Regions from separate parts of the Homo sapiens genome. Here regions 2 and 3 are each linked to region 1. The links are contacts of gene promoters, found by promoter capture Hi-C in blood cells and fetal thymus (Javierre and others, 2016). All regions are on one chromosome and are shown on one strand. The core of a region is centred on a gene start or on the middle of the fragment in contact, and the rest is flanking DNA. Distances in the headings are between cores, read along the strand shown. Region 1 holds the start of ADCY4 (adenylate cyclase 4). Region 2 overlaps NRL (neural retina leucine zipper). Region 3 overlaps DCAF11 (DDB1 and CUL4 associated factor 11).

Region 1 (4,528 bases), core at 927-3,426:
GTCGCTGCTCCCGGGAAGCGAGGCCCAGCAGCAGCGAGAAGCCGCCCAGCGCGCACAGCACAGTGGTCAGGAAGCTCGGGTCTGAGGTCAGCTCCTGTGGGCAGGGGTGTGTGAGGCAAGATTGTGACAGGGAGAAGGAACGAACCTGATAAAGGAAAAGCCAGCAGCCCAGCCCCTCAGCCCAGTTCTGAAAGGTGTCTCAAGCCTAAGTACGAAAAGGAGGCAAGGCACCTCCGCTTGCCATTCACTTTAGGTTGAACCATTTGAAATTGCTTGTGTCCTACTGCTTTTATCTAGACTCAGCAGTCTCGTATGGTTTTTGTTGGTTGGTTGGTTTGTTTTTTGAGACAGAGTCTTGCTCTGTCGCCCAGGCTGGAGTTCAGTGGCGCGATCTCGGCTTACTGCAACCTCTGCCTCCCGGGTTCAAGTGATTCTCATGCCTCAGCCTCCCGAGTAGCTGGGATTACAGGCTCCCGCCACCACGCCCAGCTAATTTTTTTTTTTTTGTATTTTTAGTAGAAGACAGGGTCTCGCCAAGTTGCCCAGGCTGGTCTCGAGCTCCTGGGCTCAAACGATCTCCCGCCTTGGCCTCCCAAAGTGCTGGGATTACAGGCGTGAGCCACAGCGCCCAGCCTCCTGTTGTCCAACCTATTATCTTGCTGGGACAGCTACCCAGAAGATCTGGCTCCCATCCCCTATTTGTTTCTGAGCCTCAGTTTTCTTATCTGTCAAACGGGAACCAAAGCGTCATGAAGCAAGTGAAAGATAGATCCAAGCTCACAAGGAGGCACTTCGGAATGAATGTCTCCAAATCTGGCCAATTTGCTCGGGAGATTCCCGGAGCCGGGGACCGCGGCCGGCAGCTTGAAGGGCGGCGCGAGGCAGCGCTCGAGCAGCAGGGGGCGCCAGGACCCGCGGCGTCCCGCACCTCCCTGGCCACCAGGGCTGCGATCTCGCCACCTGCCTCAACTCCAAGCAGAAGCTGCACAGCCGTCCCAGCATTTTGTCCCCACCTCTTCCCGGATTTAGGCGTGGACCAGCAAGGATTGGCCGCGCCCGGTGATTTTCCCACCTTGCCTCCAAGCAGTGAAAAGAAAACCAGGGGCAGGCCATTTCTAGAATTGGATTGAAGACCTTCTTCCTCCCCAAACAGAAACTGGACATGGGTTTACTTTGGGACTCAGTGAGAGCCCGGTGGAGGGTGCCTTCTGGGAGTCTGTGGGTACAACTGCTCTACATCCCCTAAGAGGGAGAGAAAGGCAGGAAATGAATTCCCCAGGGGCCTCCTAGAATTTCCCCTTTGGAAAACTGGAAAATCCGGTGATGGATTTATTGTAGAACCCGTAGACCACGGATGTTCATAAAGTCTGTCAGAACCCGGACAGAAACGAGAAGCATCCAGGACTCAGCTTTCTCCCTGAGCAGACCCAGAAGGGTAGAGTGACTTGCCCAGGGTCACTGCAGTTCCTAGCCAGGCTCAATGGTCCTTTCTTTCTCTGCTCCCAGCAACGAAAACACATCGAAAAGAAGACCCCACAAACCCCAACCCCGAAAATGCTCCCCAGGTAGAGACCCTCCCGCAGCAGAGGCTCGGCTCACCCTGCCGCTGGCCCAGGCCACTGCGAGCAGCGCCGCGAGCGCACAGAGCACGATCCCCAGCAGCAGCAGCAGCAGCGGGTACTGCTGGCTCAGGCTGTAGTAGGTCTCGTAGAAGAGGTCTTCGCTGGGGGGCGGCCGGGGGCTGAAGAGGCGGGCCATGATCTCCCCAGCCCCGAGCCCCGGGGCTGGCTAGGGCCGGGCGCCGGGTTACCTCCTTCGGCCCGGCGGGCCCCACCTGAGCTTTTCTCACCCGCTCAAAGCCGCTACCACCCCGCGCCCCCAACCTCGTGGCAATCCCGTCTCCTTTTTCAGGCCCTCCCTGCGGCCTCCCAGCCCGCTCCCAGCTGGCGATGAGGGGATCCCTCAGTCCTTTCCTCCTCCTCCCTCAAACCCGGATTGTAGAGGTGCCCTAGAAAAGCCTCATCGCCAGGAGGGCAGGATTTGGGGTTGGTGCGAGGGAGCCCCGGGTTCCCCTGATCCCCGAACTCACTGCCCGCGGCGCTGGCGCAGCGGAGTGGGCTAGGTCCGGGGAGGGAGCCGGGGACCTGATGGCGGAGTCACGCTCGCCGCTGCGCTCTGGCTCAGAGTCCCGGGCGACAGGCGCTTCCCTCCCGGCGCCGCGGCCCCCTCCCACTTCCCCGACGGGACAGCCCGGCCCCTTCCTGTGCCAAAGCCGGACTCCCCTGGTCTCCTCCCGCACTTGGTTTTGTCTCTCCTAACACCATCGCCTCCCCGCTTCAGCCCCTTCAGGGAAGGGCAATGTGGACCCTGGGAGAGATGCGAAGGGGTGGGCTGGGGTGGACCCAATGGGATGTGTCCAAATGGAGGTGAACGTTTGGTAGTGGGGAGACCGAGGGCGGGGGGCTGAAGCCTGGCGAGAATGTAGGGAAGAATGTGGGTCCTGGTGGGGATCTAGGTCAGAGTTGGGGGCGCTCATTCTCTTGACCTCTCCGCTTGGCTGGCAACCACTACCACCGGGTTTGAACTGTTCATGCTCCGTGGGAGGGGTTGCGCCTGTGTATAGCTTTAGGAGCCATAGCTTTCCACTCCCGAACAGCAACTGGGAATCAAAAGGGAAGCAATGTCCAGGAAGCAACCTGAGTGTGTGGTGGAGGCAGGTATGTGGCGTCATGATCTCTAAGAGCCTGGGGGCACCGTGCGGGGCCAGGTCTGTGATCTTTCACATCAACTCATCCCTCGCCAGAGCCCTGCAAGTGAGTCTTGAGAGCCCGGAAGAAAAGGGACCACAGCCTCTATCCCCAGAGTTTAGGGTTAGGGTGGGGTCGCCATCCTAGGCTTTAGAGGAAGCACTGCCCTGAGATTAGAGAGTGGTCTGGGGAACCAGGCCTCTAGGATTCCTTCCTGTTGTAGCCGGCTGTGCCCTGACCTTGTGTGCCAGGCCATTGCCCACTCCCAGCCCCCAGCATCCCCACTTCCTGCCATAGCAGAGCTGTGGTGCCTCCCTATCCCTCACTGGCAGCTCCCACCCCCATCCCAGTCCCTCCCTGCCCCTGGCTGAGCTCAGACTGACTAGCATTCCATCATGTTTATTGACTCCTGGGGGACAGGTCACAAAGTCAGTTTGTGGGCAGGCCAGACTGCCCTAGAAGGAAGTCAGGGGCCTCAAGGGGTGGCACTCTTCCTTAACTCGTAACTCTTGGAGGCAAGCTTGGAAGGTGCTTTATTTCCCGCTATGATTATACCAACCCTGTGGCCTGCTCCAGGCTTCAGGATCTTTAGGGCCTTCTTGCGAACCTACTGGTGGGGGGTGCTGCAAGCCCCTCCCCTTGCCCGAAGGTGCCAAGCCCCATGTGGGCAAGGCAGTTGTCTGTTGCATAGTCAAGTAGTTGTTGTCTCCAACTTGCACCCCAGAGCAGTTGTATATGTTAACGAGCGGTCGCCCTTTAAGAGAAATAGTGATGGTGGCAGGAGGGTTTAGCTGTCAGAAAGGCCAAGTTGGGGGTGGGTGGGGAGTATGAAGTCTCTACTTGTCAGTGGCTGTGTCAAGGTGTGCCCTGTGCTCCTCCCCTCAGAGCTCCTCTCCAGAATTGTGTTAGCAGAAGCTCTAGAGAGTGGCAATTGACATTTGAGACCCTGATCTTTTTTGCTGGGAGGTCCTCTGGACTGCTGAAACAATGGAACTTAGGGGGCTCACAGAGCTGGTGTTGTGGAAAGTTAGAAGATTCAGGGACAAATCCAAGCTTTGTTGTGTGACCTCAGAGGGCTCCTTTCTCAGGGGGTGTCGGTTTTCCCATTTATGAAATGAGAAGGTTGAGTTAGATCATCTTCTCCCCTCCCCTCCACAAAGTACCCTGAATCTAGATATAGGTCTGGAGGAGGAGTCTGGTGGAAGAATTGAACAGGGAAAAGAAAGAGGTAGAGAATGGGTACCTGTTACTGGATTTGGCTCCGGGGTCCTGCAGGACCAGTTCATGCCTTGTCTCTCAGCCCCCTGCAAACAGCACAGAGCATCCAGTTCTGCCCTGGAGCCTGGCACTCCCACTGCACTCCTCTCAGCCCCAAGTTTTCGCTGGCAAGGGGACAGCATTTATAGGACTCTTAGTGCATCCCCTAATCCTGTCAATGTCTCACCTGATTCCCTCGGGGTCCAGGACTTGGTGTTCCAGTTGAGGTAGGGCTGGGCATCTGGTTTCTGAAAGTTGAGGTCTCTGGAGTCTGGGGAGGTTGGGCCATCGAATCTGAAGATGTGCCTGCTGTCCAGGCTTGTGGAACCTGCTCCTCTTGTGCCCTGCTCCTCTTGGTAAGGCTCGGGCATTTTTTAGGAACAGAGCTGGGAGGCTCCTCTAGATTCAGTTTGTTTAGCCACTCAGAAACCATGACATCATTACGAGAGTGCTGGTTTTCTATGGTTCTCCTAAAGCCATCCATTTCTGTCCCTCCTTGGCCTGACTCTGGGATAGAAAATCTC
Region 2 (4,528 bases), core at 983-3,482, 250 kb before region 1:
GGGCTAAGCTGCTAACGGGCTAAGGGAGTCAGACTAAACAAGCTCAGGCGAGTTGAGCTGCTTGGGGCTCAGACCAGGCACCACTAAACCAGGGAAAGGAGCTGGGGGAGTGAGGGTTGGGCCCAGTCTGGGCCAGAGGAAAGGACCAAGGGCACAGAGAGGAGAGTCTGTGGCAGTCAGTGGGGACCCAGAAAGCAGAGCCCATCTCCCATATCCACTGGAGACTGAGAAATGAATACTGAGACTAATGGGCTCAAGGACATCTAGGGATGAAAAAGATGAAGCCAGTGTGACTCCAGGAATAATAGAACAGAGGAAGGAGACTAAGGAGGCAGTAGGTGTAGATGTGAGATAGAGGACAGGACAAGTCAGGGTCTCCATGGGGATTTGGATTAAAGGAGACAGAAAGATGTAGGCACATGGACGAGATGGATAAAGAAAGGAAGTCTTCCAGGAGAGGACCAAGAAGGGAGTAGGGGACAACAAGGACTAGAACAGTAAGAGTGGTAGAAGGAAGGGACAGGACATAAGATTGGGGACCAAGACCTAGACACCAATACAAAGAAATAGACACATAGGCCACAGAGGAAGAGCAGTGGCCAAAGGACAGAAAGGTAGCAAGATATGGATGGAGTGATATTGGACCATGGGGAAAGAGGGGCAGGCAGGCAAAGGGCCTGCAGGAGTGGGGTAGAAAATGAAGAGGAAGGAGAGAAAATGAGACAGTCAGCATTCCAGGATGCTACCTCCTCTCCTCTGTCCTGCACTCTCATTTTTGGAACCCTGAAAGACTGGTTCTCATTCCTACTTCTGGCTCATGGTATCTAGATCTTCAGTAATAGATCCAAATCCTCAACCTCTTCTTGGTGTACCTCCTACATTCTTTTGAAAAATGCATATTAAACACCTATTCTGCACCACATCCTGAGTAAGGCATTAGCGACCCCTCAGTAACTTACACTAATACCAGCCCTGACTTCAAGAAACTTACAGACTGATGAAACAGAGAAACATCAAATTATTGCCCTTTGGCTGGGTGCAGAGGCTCATGCCTGTAATCCTAGCACTTTGGAAGGCCAAGATGGGTGGATCGCTTGAGCCCAGAAGTTCGACACCAGCCTGGGCAACATGGCAAAACCCTGTCTCTACTAAAAATACAAAAACTGAGGTGGGAGGATCAGGAGCCTGGGGAGGATGAGGGTGCAGTGGGCCATGATGGTGCCACTGCACTCTAGCTTTGGAGACAGAAAGAAACCCTGTCTCAAAAAAAAAATAATAAATAAATTATTGTCCTTAGGCCCAGGCAGGAGTGGCCCCTGCCCTGGGCCCTGTGCTTTAGAAGGCTCCACTCTGGCCTCCTCTGGCTATGTCCCACCACATGGGTGAGGAGTCCAACTATCCTCTGCCCATACCTTAATCCTCTCAGGACCACACTCCAGATAGCTAAGCATTCCCTGTCCAAAAGGCCCAAGCCCACTCCTAGGGCCCACGTGAACCTCTTCCCTGGGTTTGCCCTCCCACGGCTGGGCCACATGACTGGTTCACACATTCTGAGGTCAAAGGGTAGACAAGGGGTAGCTGCTTGCAGGAGACTGTGGACAGACTTGGGATGGCCTGATGGGAGGTCCACATGGTTCCACACAAGGCCCCTTGCAGTCCAAGATGGTGTCAGGGGTAGGAGGCAAAGTGGGCCCAGCTGAGGGCCAGTGGCCAAAACTACATCCCCCTACACCATCACATTCTGGTGCAGAACCCTGAGGATTCCAAATAAAATACAAATCTGAACCTGGCCTTCCAGGCCATTGTGAAGTATGTATTTGTCAATATATTTGTCAAGGTAGAAGAACAGAATATATTTTGTGTAACAGTTTGTTAGCCTGAATTATACTTTTTTTTTTTTTTTTTTGAGATAGCTCTGTCGCCCTGGCTGGAGTGCAGTGGTGTGATCTCGGCTTACTGCAACCTCTGTCTCCTGGGTTCAAGTGATTCTCCTGGCTCAGCCTATCAAGTAGCAGACATGCACCACCATGCCTGGCTAATTTTTTTTTTTTTTTTTTTTTTCACAGAGTCTTGCTCTGTCCCCCAGGCTGGAGGGCAGTGGCGCGATCTTGGCTGACGGCAAGCTCCGCCTCCCAGGTTCATGCCATTCTCCTGCCTCAGACTCCGGCTGGAACTACAGGCACCCGCCACCATGCCTGGCTAATTTTTTTTTTGTATTTTTAGTAGAGATGGGGTTTCACTGGGTTAGCCAAGATGGTCTCGATCTCCTGACCTCGTGATCCGCCCGCCTCGGCCTCCCAAAGTGCTGGGATTACAGGCGTGAGCCACTGCGCCTGGCCTAATTTTTGTATTTTTAGTAGAGACAGGGTTTCATGTTGGCCAGGCTGGTCTTGAACTCCTGACCTCAAATGATCCACCCGCCTCAGCCTCCCAAAGCGCTGGGGTTATAGGCATGAGCCACTGCGCCGACCCTGAGTTATACATTTTAATCTTTTTTTTTTGAGACAGGGTCTCGCTCTGTTACCCAGGCTGGAGTGCAGTGGTGCAATCATAGCTCACTGCAGCCTTGAACTCCTGGGCTCAAGCTATCTCCCACTTTAGTCTCCCAAGCAGTTGGGACTACAGGTGCACACCACCATGCCTGGCTACTTTTTTATTTTTTGTAGAGAAGAAGTCTCACTATGTTGTTCAGGCTGGTCTTAAACTCCTGGGCTCAAGTGATCCTCCAGCCTCTGCCTCCCAAAGTGCTGGGATTACAAGGCATGAGCCACCACACCCAGCCCATTTTAAATATTTAAACACAAGGTTTGAGGGCCTCTATTTGTACTCCTGCCGCAGGTCCTACATATGTTAGAGATGTGTCTACATAAAAACAAACCATTTAAACAGAGATGAATGTGCTAAGAAGAAGAAGGGCAGGGTGCTATGAAATTTTCTTCCACGAAGACATACTCTAATACAAAGCCAGAGGGGATGCATCACAGGGACAGGTTGCCTAAGAAAGTCATGCTAAACCAAGACTGGTCAGGTGAATAAGAAGTGACCCTGCCTGGAGGTGTGGACAGGGTGGGAATTCCAGGCGGCAGAAACAACATATGCAAAGGTTGTGAGGCAGGAAAGATGTAGACATGTTCACAAAACTGAGAAAAGATCCACGTAGCCAGAGAGTAGAAAGCCTGGAAGGTGGGAAGAACAGTGATAGCTGAGGCTGGAGAAGTCAGCAGGGGCCAGATCATGCAGAGCCTGGGAGGTCACATTAAGGGTTTGGGCTTTATTCTAAGAGCAGGGAGAAGCTACTGAAGGGTTTTCAGTAGAGACATGATGTGATCAGATTTGTGTTCGGAAGGATCACGTATGTCAGCACTTTGTGTTTGTGGAGGAAGGCAACAATGAAATAAGAGTCAGATTAGAGGACTAATGCCGTAACCAAGTTGAGCCTGAGGAATATTTGCAACTGGAAGCACACTCTGAGACAGAAACTTGTGTGCAGGTGGTTTACTCGGGGGGGGGGGGGGGGCACGGGGGGGGACTTTCAAAGAAAGAGTAGCAGGACCCAAGAGAGGGAACAGTTGAATGGCACTGCAGTTGTAATCAGCTGAGCCTAAAGAGCTCTGGGGCTGGGATGGACCTTCAGAGTTGTCCCAAACTGAGACAAAGGGCTAGGCCTCTGTACTTTATAACAACCATTCATTGGATACATACTGCCCCCAGGAAGCGGGCATTGCATTTGGTGAGACAGCTCCCTTTGGCCACAGATAGTGCTCAAGGAAGTACTCAGCTGTGAGCTATCAGCAGCCAACACTCAGCAGCTGGAACAATGAGCATCATGATCCTGAAGCGGGAATCTGGGCTACACACCACAGCATCACTACTCGGGCTGTGAGACTTCAGGGATGAACCCAGAGGCCCCAGAGAGGACAATGCAGATCACACTCTGCCCCCTGGTGGTACTCCTTGGACATAGGGCCAGCTGGTGGGCCAGGCTCTCCCGGCAGGGAACTAAAGAAAAGTGTGTGGCAGATAAGGGGAAATGAGCAGTGCAAGGAAATCTGCACGTGAGCCCCTTGCTCCATCTGCCTAAAGCTAGAGAAGAAAGTAATGGTGGGGAAGAAGAATTCAGAAACGTGGCACTCATTCATTCTTTTATTCAACCAACTTTTATTAAGTGCCTGTTATAGGCCAGGTACTGCTGGGAACTAGGAGAAAAACAAGACTGAAATCATCACTCTAGTGAGGATTACAGAGATATAAAAGTAACTACAGTATAGTAAAGTACAAAAATATAGGCATATACATGGGATAGAAGCAACACAGATGAAATAGATGTTCATTCTAAGGGACGAACAGAAAAGGCCTGTGTGTGTGTGTGTGTGTGTGTGTGTGTGTGTGTGTGTGTGTGTGTTAGAGACAGAGTCTCACTGTGTTGCCCAGGCTGGAGTGCAGTGGTGCGATCTCGGCTCACTGCAACCTCCGCCTCCCGGGTTCAAGCGATTCTCCTGCCTCAGCCTCCTGAGTAGCTGGGACTACC
Region 3 (4,528 bases), core at 967-3,466, 220 kb before region 1:
AGTGATATTTTGAATGATAGGTTACATTGAAAGAAGGTACGATAATTTAAGGAATAAGGAGTCCTTACAGCCCCAGTATATTCAGCCACAGGGGTGGGCTTGGGTACAGTTCTGCTAACTGTCCTCTGAGGCTGGCAGACCTAGGATGAAACTTCTCCTTGGTACTCACAGTGGATGCTACCCCTGACACCCGGGAGCTGGAATTCAATGAGATCAAGACACAAGTGGAACTGGCCACAGGGCAGCTGGGGCTTAGGCGGGCCGCCCAGAAGCACAGCTTTCCTCGAATGTTGCACCAGGTAGGCCTCTCCACCTCCCAGCCTGGCAGCAGGCCTGCCAAAGCAGCCAGAAGCTCTGCCAGCCCCAGAGAAAAAGGAAGTCAACTTTCCAAAGTAGAAGCCTCAAGCGCTGGGGCTGGAGAGTTAACCAGCCTCCATCGGAGTTCTGTGGGACAGACTATGATGTGTGTGTCCATTTCTATAACAAGAGCAATATCTTTGGAGGAGGGGGCTTGATATGGCTGAAGTGGCCCTCTATTTCTGCTAGCAATATTCCCCAATCCCTTCCATTTAGAGAGAACGGGGCCTCTGCCATCGGGGAAGCTTCTCCCTTGGAGAACAGTCTCGAGTGATATCTCAGTGAGTATGGGGCTTGGTGAAGAGACTCTAAGGGCCAGATAGGTCTTATCTCCTAAACTTTGAAGGGGTAGGTGTTAAAGGAGCCTCAGAGATATTAAAGGTTAGGTTAAATGGGGTTGAAACTTTGAGAGTAAACAAAGTAGAAAAGTGTAGAAAATTGTAGAAATTTAGAGGATGGTGGAATGGTTGAAAGACGGGATTGCACTCACAGCCAAAAGGGAAGAATGACTGTTCTGATATTCCAGCTCTGTTAGGATTCTGCTGATTGGGACACTCCTTATCCTGAGCACCCCTCACCCTCACTTTCTCTCTCCTTCCCTAGCTTCTTGCCCAATGATCTGGGCTTCACTGATAGCTACTCTCAGAAGGCTTTCTGTGGCATCTACAGCAAAGATGGTCAAATATTCATGTCTGCTTGCCAAGGTACCAGACCCTGGTCCTATAAACTATCTTTTCCTGGAACATGGGACATTCCCCCTGACTGAGGCTAGAAAGCCACAGACGGGGAGCTCAGACCTGGCTTAAGGATGCTTAGCCAGACCATGTTTCCCATGATAAAGGGAAGACTCCACAGGTACACTGAGTGGGAGATGTCTAATCTAGAAAAGTTACAAGGAAACTGTCCCATAATTCTGCCTGATCTTTACTTACACAGACCAGACAATCCGACTCTATGACTGCCGATATGGCCGTTTCCGTAAATTCAAGAGCATCAAGGCCCGCGACGTAGGCTGGAGCGTCTTGGATGTGGCCTTCACCCCTGATGGGAACCACTTCCTCTACTCTAGCTGGTCTGATTACAGTGAGTATGCACCAGGCTTCCACTGACTCTCCAGCCTGGGACCTGAGGTTTCCATGTGCCTGTCCCCTCTGAGCCAGGATCCCTCACTTTGTCCTGGGAAAATCACTCCCAAAGTGCTCCAGTACCCTTGTCCCCTGTTTGATCTCTTCCCTAGCTTCACTTCCACTCTTCTTCCCCCATCCCTGAAAGATTCTTGTTTTTCTTGCTTCTCTTAGTTCATATCTGCAATATCTATGGTGAGGGAGATACACACACTGCCCTGGATCTCAGGTACTGGCTTCCCTTTCTGGTCAGACTCATCAGAAACTTCTCAAGGGAAGCTCTTTGGGAGCAAACCTCTTGAGTTGGAAGTTCTGTTTAGGGGAAAAAGTATACTGGTGGGTCTGTGTGCATTCCTGGGAGGGAAGCACCATCTTGTCAGCCAGAGGACTGGGTAAAATAGATGGTTGCAGGATGATTTCTGGGTTCTCACTGAGCATCTGCATTATGGTGCATGTTAGCCAGACTTCTTTTTTCCCCTGGGGATGTGCCTTACAACCGTTGTCAGATTTTATGTAGATTAACAAAAGCTGAAGGAAGTCCACTTAACCCAGCTCCTTCTTGCTTTTAGGCCAGATGAGCGTCGCTTTGCTGTCTTCTCCATTGCTGTCTCCTCAGATGGACGAGAAGTACTAGGAGGGTAAGTGCTTGTGGGGTATGTTTCCCTCAATAACAAGATGGGGGTTCTGCCAGAGATGAGTTCTGCTGTTACACAGATGGCACTGGCAGCTGCAGAGAACAACCAGACCTTCTCCCAAGGTCAGGATTTACAAGTTGCTTCACCCCTTGCTCTCCATTTCCCCAGCACGAGATTGGAGGTGTCAAGCCTCCTTGAAACACAGCTAACTCTTCCCCCACTTCCTGTATAAAAAGAGCAAAGGGCTTGACCCAGAGCAGGATTTCTCAGTGGAACTCTCTAGAGCATATACCACGTTGGTCCTCTCGATCATGGCTCCAGGACCCTCCTTTATCCCTTCCCTTTCAGGGCCAATGATGGCTGCCTGTATGTCTTTGACCGAGAACAGAACCGGCGCACCCTTCAGGTATGGCTCCTGAGATAGAGCCTCTGCCTCCTGGTTTTTGGCTTTTTATAAGACCTAGAAAGAGGTCTTATATCCTGGCCTCCTTTTCGCCTAGATTGAGTCCCATGAGGATGATGTGAATGCAGTGGCCTTTGCTGATATAAGCTCCCAAATCCTGTTCTCTGGGGGAGATGATGCCATCTGCAAAGTGTGGGATCGACGCACCATGCGGGAGGATGACCCCAAGCCTGTGGGTGCACTGGCTGGACACCAGGATGGCATCACCTTCATTGACAGCAAGGTGGGCCAGAAGTCAGGACTGTACAGCCAGGCCGCTAAGGTTCTAGTTGCCCAGGAGGGCATGAAAGCGGACTGGTGTGGGAATTTGACAAGCTCCTTATTAACCAAGGTTTGTAAGAGTTGGAGTTTAGGGAAGGGGCTCAAGCCAGGGAACATGAATTCCATCTGTACTCACCAGTCCTCAAGGAGCAGGGCAGGGCTTTCCGTACAAGAAAAATGGAAGACCGGTCAGGTACAGCGGCTCACACCTGTAATCCTAGCACTTTGGGAGGCTGAGGTGGGAGGATCACTTGAGCTCAGGCGTTCCAGACCAGCCTGTGAAACCTAGCGAGACCTCATCTCTATTTATTTAAAAAAAAAAACAAAAAAAAAAAACTAAGGCCAGATGCCGTGGCTCATGCCTGTAATCCCAGCACTTTGGGAGGCCGAGGCGGGCAGATCACGAGGTCAGGAGATCGAGACCATCCTGGCTAACATGGTGAAACCCCGTCTCTACTAAACATACAAAAAAATTAGCTGGGTGTGGTGGCAGTCGCCTGTAGTCCCATCTACTCAAGAGGCTGAGGCAGGAGAATGGCGTGAACCCGGGAGGCGGAGCTTGCAGTGAGCCGAGATCACCCCACTACACTCCAGCCTGGGTGACAGAGCAAGACTCCATCTCAAAAAAAAATTAGTTAATTAAAAATTAAAAAAAGAAAAATGGAAGACAATCTGATTAAGGCTAGAATAGGAAAGCCGGCCAGTAGCCTGGGCAAGGAAAGGAAAACCTAGCCAGGTGGTAGGATCTGAGGCAGAACGCTGGAAATGAGTTCACCTGGATGAAGAGAGGCAAGTAAAGCCAGAGGCCAGAGTTCTTCTGCTCAACTAGAGAACGGGAACTAGACTGACAGGCGCCGACATTTGCAAGCTCTGATGCTTCACTATCCACCTTTGGATTCATAGGGTGATGCCCGGTATCTGATCTCCAACTCTAAAGACCAGACCATCAAACTCTGGGATATCCGACGCTTTTCCAGCCGGGAAGGCATGGAAGCTTCACGCCAGGCTGCCACACAGCAAAACTGGGACTATCGGTGGCAGCAAGTGCCCAAAAAAGGTGAGACTGGAAGTACAGGCACAGTGGATTTGTCTGTAGCCTGGGAGCCCTGGAGGACCTCCCCCTCAGCCCTCTTTGCCAGGCATTAACTCTTTATTTGCTAAATCATGGATGGAATGGCCAGAGGTTCCTAGGATTGGGGCCTGGGTGGGGGTCACTCAGAATCAACCAATATAAAAGTATGTGAGTGTAATGATTAACCGGCAGGGCCATATTGGAGACTGTCCACTGACTATTAGGTGGAGAAAGAGCCACCACTTGAAGATTGGAAAGGCATTTGTCTCTGGGCATCGAACCTTGCTCAGGACTGGTGGTACGAAACAATCCCAAAGCAGATTTCCTAACCTAGGGTTTACTCTGCATCCCTACCCAGCCTGGCGGAAGCTGAAGCTCCCAGGGGACAGCTCCTTGATGACCTACCGGGGCCACGGAGTGCTGCACACCCTCATCCGCTGCCGGTTCTCCCCCATTCATAGCACTGGCCAGCAGTTCATCTACAGTGGCTGCTCCACTGGCAAAGTGGTTGGTAAGGATTGTGTCAGAACAGGGGGCCTCAGGAAGGGCAGGAATGACTCCTTGCCATTCCACCTATAACGACTAGTGACCACCTTAAAAAGCCCAGTGACAGCTA

The links. Contacts are between HindIII fragments. The CHiCAGO score rates a contact against its expected background, and 5 or more counts as called.
Region 2: a fragment that was not itself captured here is called in contact with the fragment with the promoter of ADCY4 in region 1 in 1 of 17 cell types (activated CD4 T cells); the score reaches 6.8 in activated CD4 T cells.
Region 3: a contact is called between a fragment that was not itself captured here and the fragment with the promoter of ADCY4 in region 1, in 4 of 17 cell types (naive CD4 T cells, naive CD8 T cells, activated CD4 T cells and 1 more). The highest score is 5.5, in naive CD4 T cells.

The regions. Positions count from the first base shown.
Region 1 is chr14:24,332,895-24,337,422 of GRCh38, forward strand. It overlaps ADCY4 (adenylate cyclase 4), which reads right to left and starts at 2,177. Exons shown (of 25, transcript NM_001198568.2): 1 at 1,600-2,177; 2 at 1-94. The coding sequence starts at 1,758. It overlaps RIPK3 (receptor interacting serine/threonine kinase 3), which reads right to left. Exons shown (of 10, transcript NM_006871.4): 8 at 4,192-4,528; 9 at 3,991-4,051; 10 at 3,131-3,501. The coding sequence ends at 3,281. RefSeq lists silencers at 814-913, 1,574-1,733, 1,804-1,883. The HindIII fragment of the contact is 4,552 bases long and covers 1-3,265 here.
Region 2 is chr14:24,086,765-24,091,292 of GRCh38, forward strand. All of the region lies in intron 1 of NRL (neural retina leucine zipper), which reads right to left. Among named protein-coding and RNA genes, the nearest start is that of PCK2, 5.3 kb to the right of the region's middle. RefSeq lists enhancers at 2,236-2,735, 3,651-3,700. The HindIII fragment of the contact is 5,113 bases long and covers 1-4,528 here.
Region 3 is chr14:24,117,095-24,121,622 of GRCh38, forward strand. It overlaps DCAF11 (DDB1 and CUL4 associated factor 11), which reads left to right. Exons shown (of 15, transcript NM_025230.5): 4 at 172-299; 5 at 574-638; 6 at 961-1,061; 7 at 1,294-1,440; 8 at 1,656-1,710; 9 at 2,051-2,119; 10 at 2,465-2,522; 11 at 2,617-2,802; 12 at 3,744-3,897; 13 at 4,271-4,423. Among named protein-coding and RNA genes, the nearest start is that of NRL, 4.4 kb to the left of the region's middle. The HindIII fragment of the contact is 3,232 bases long and covers 601-3,832 here.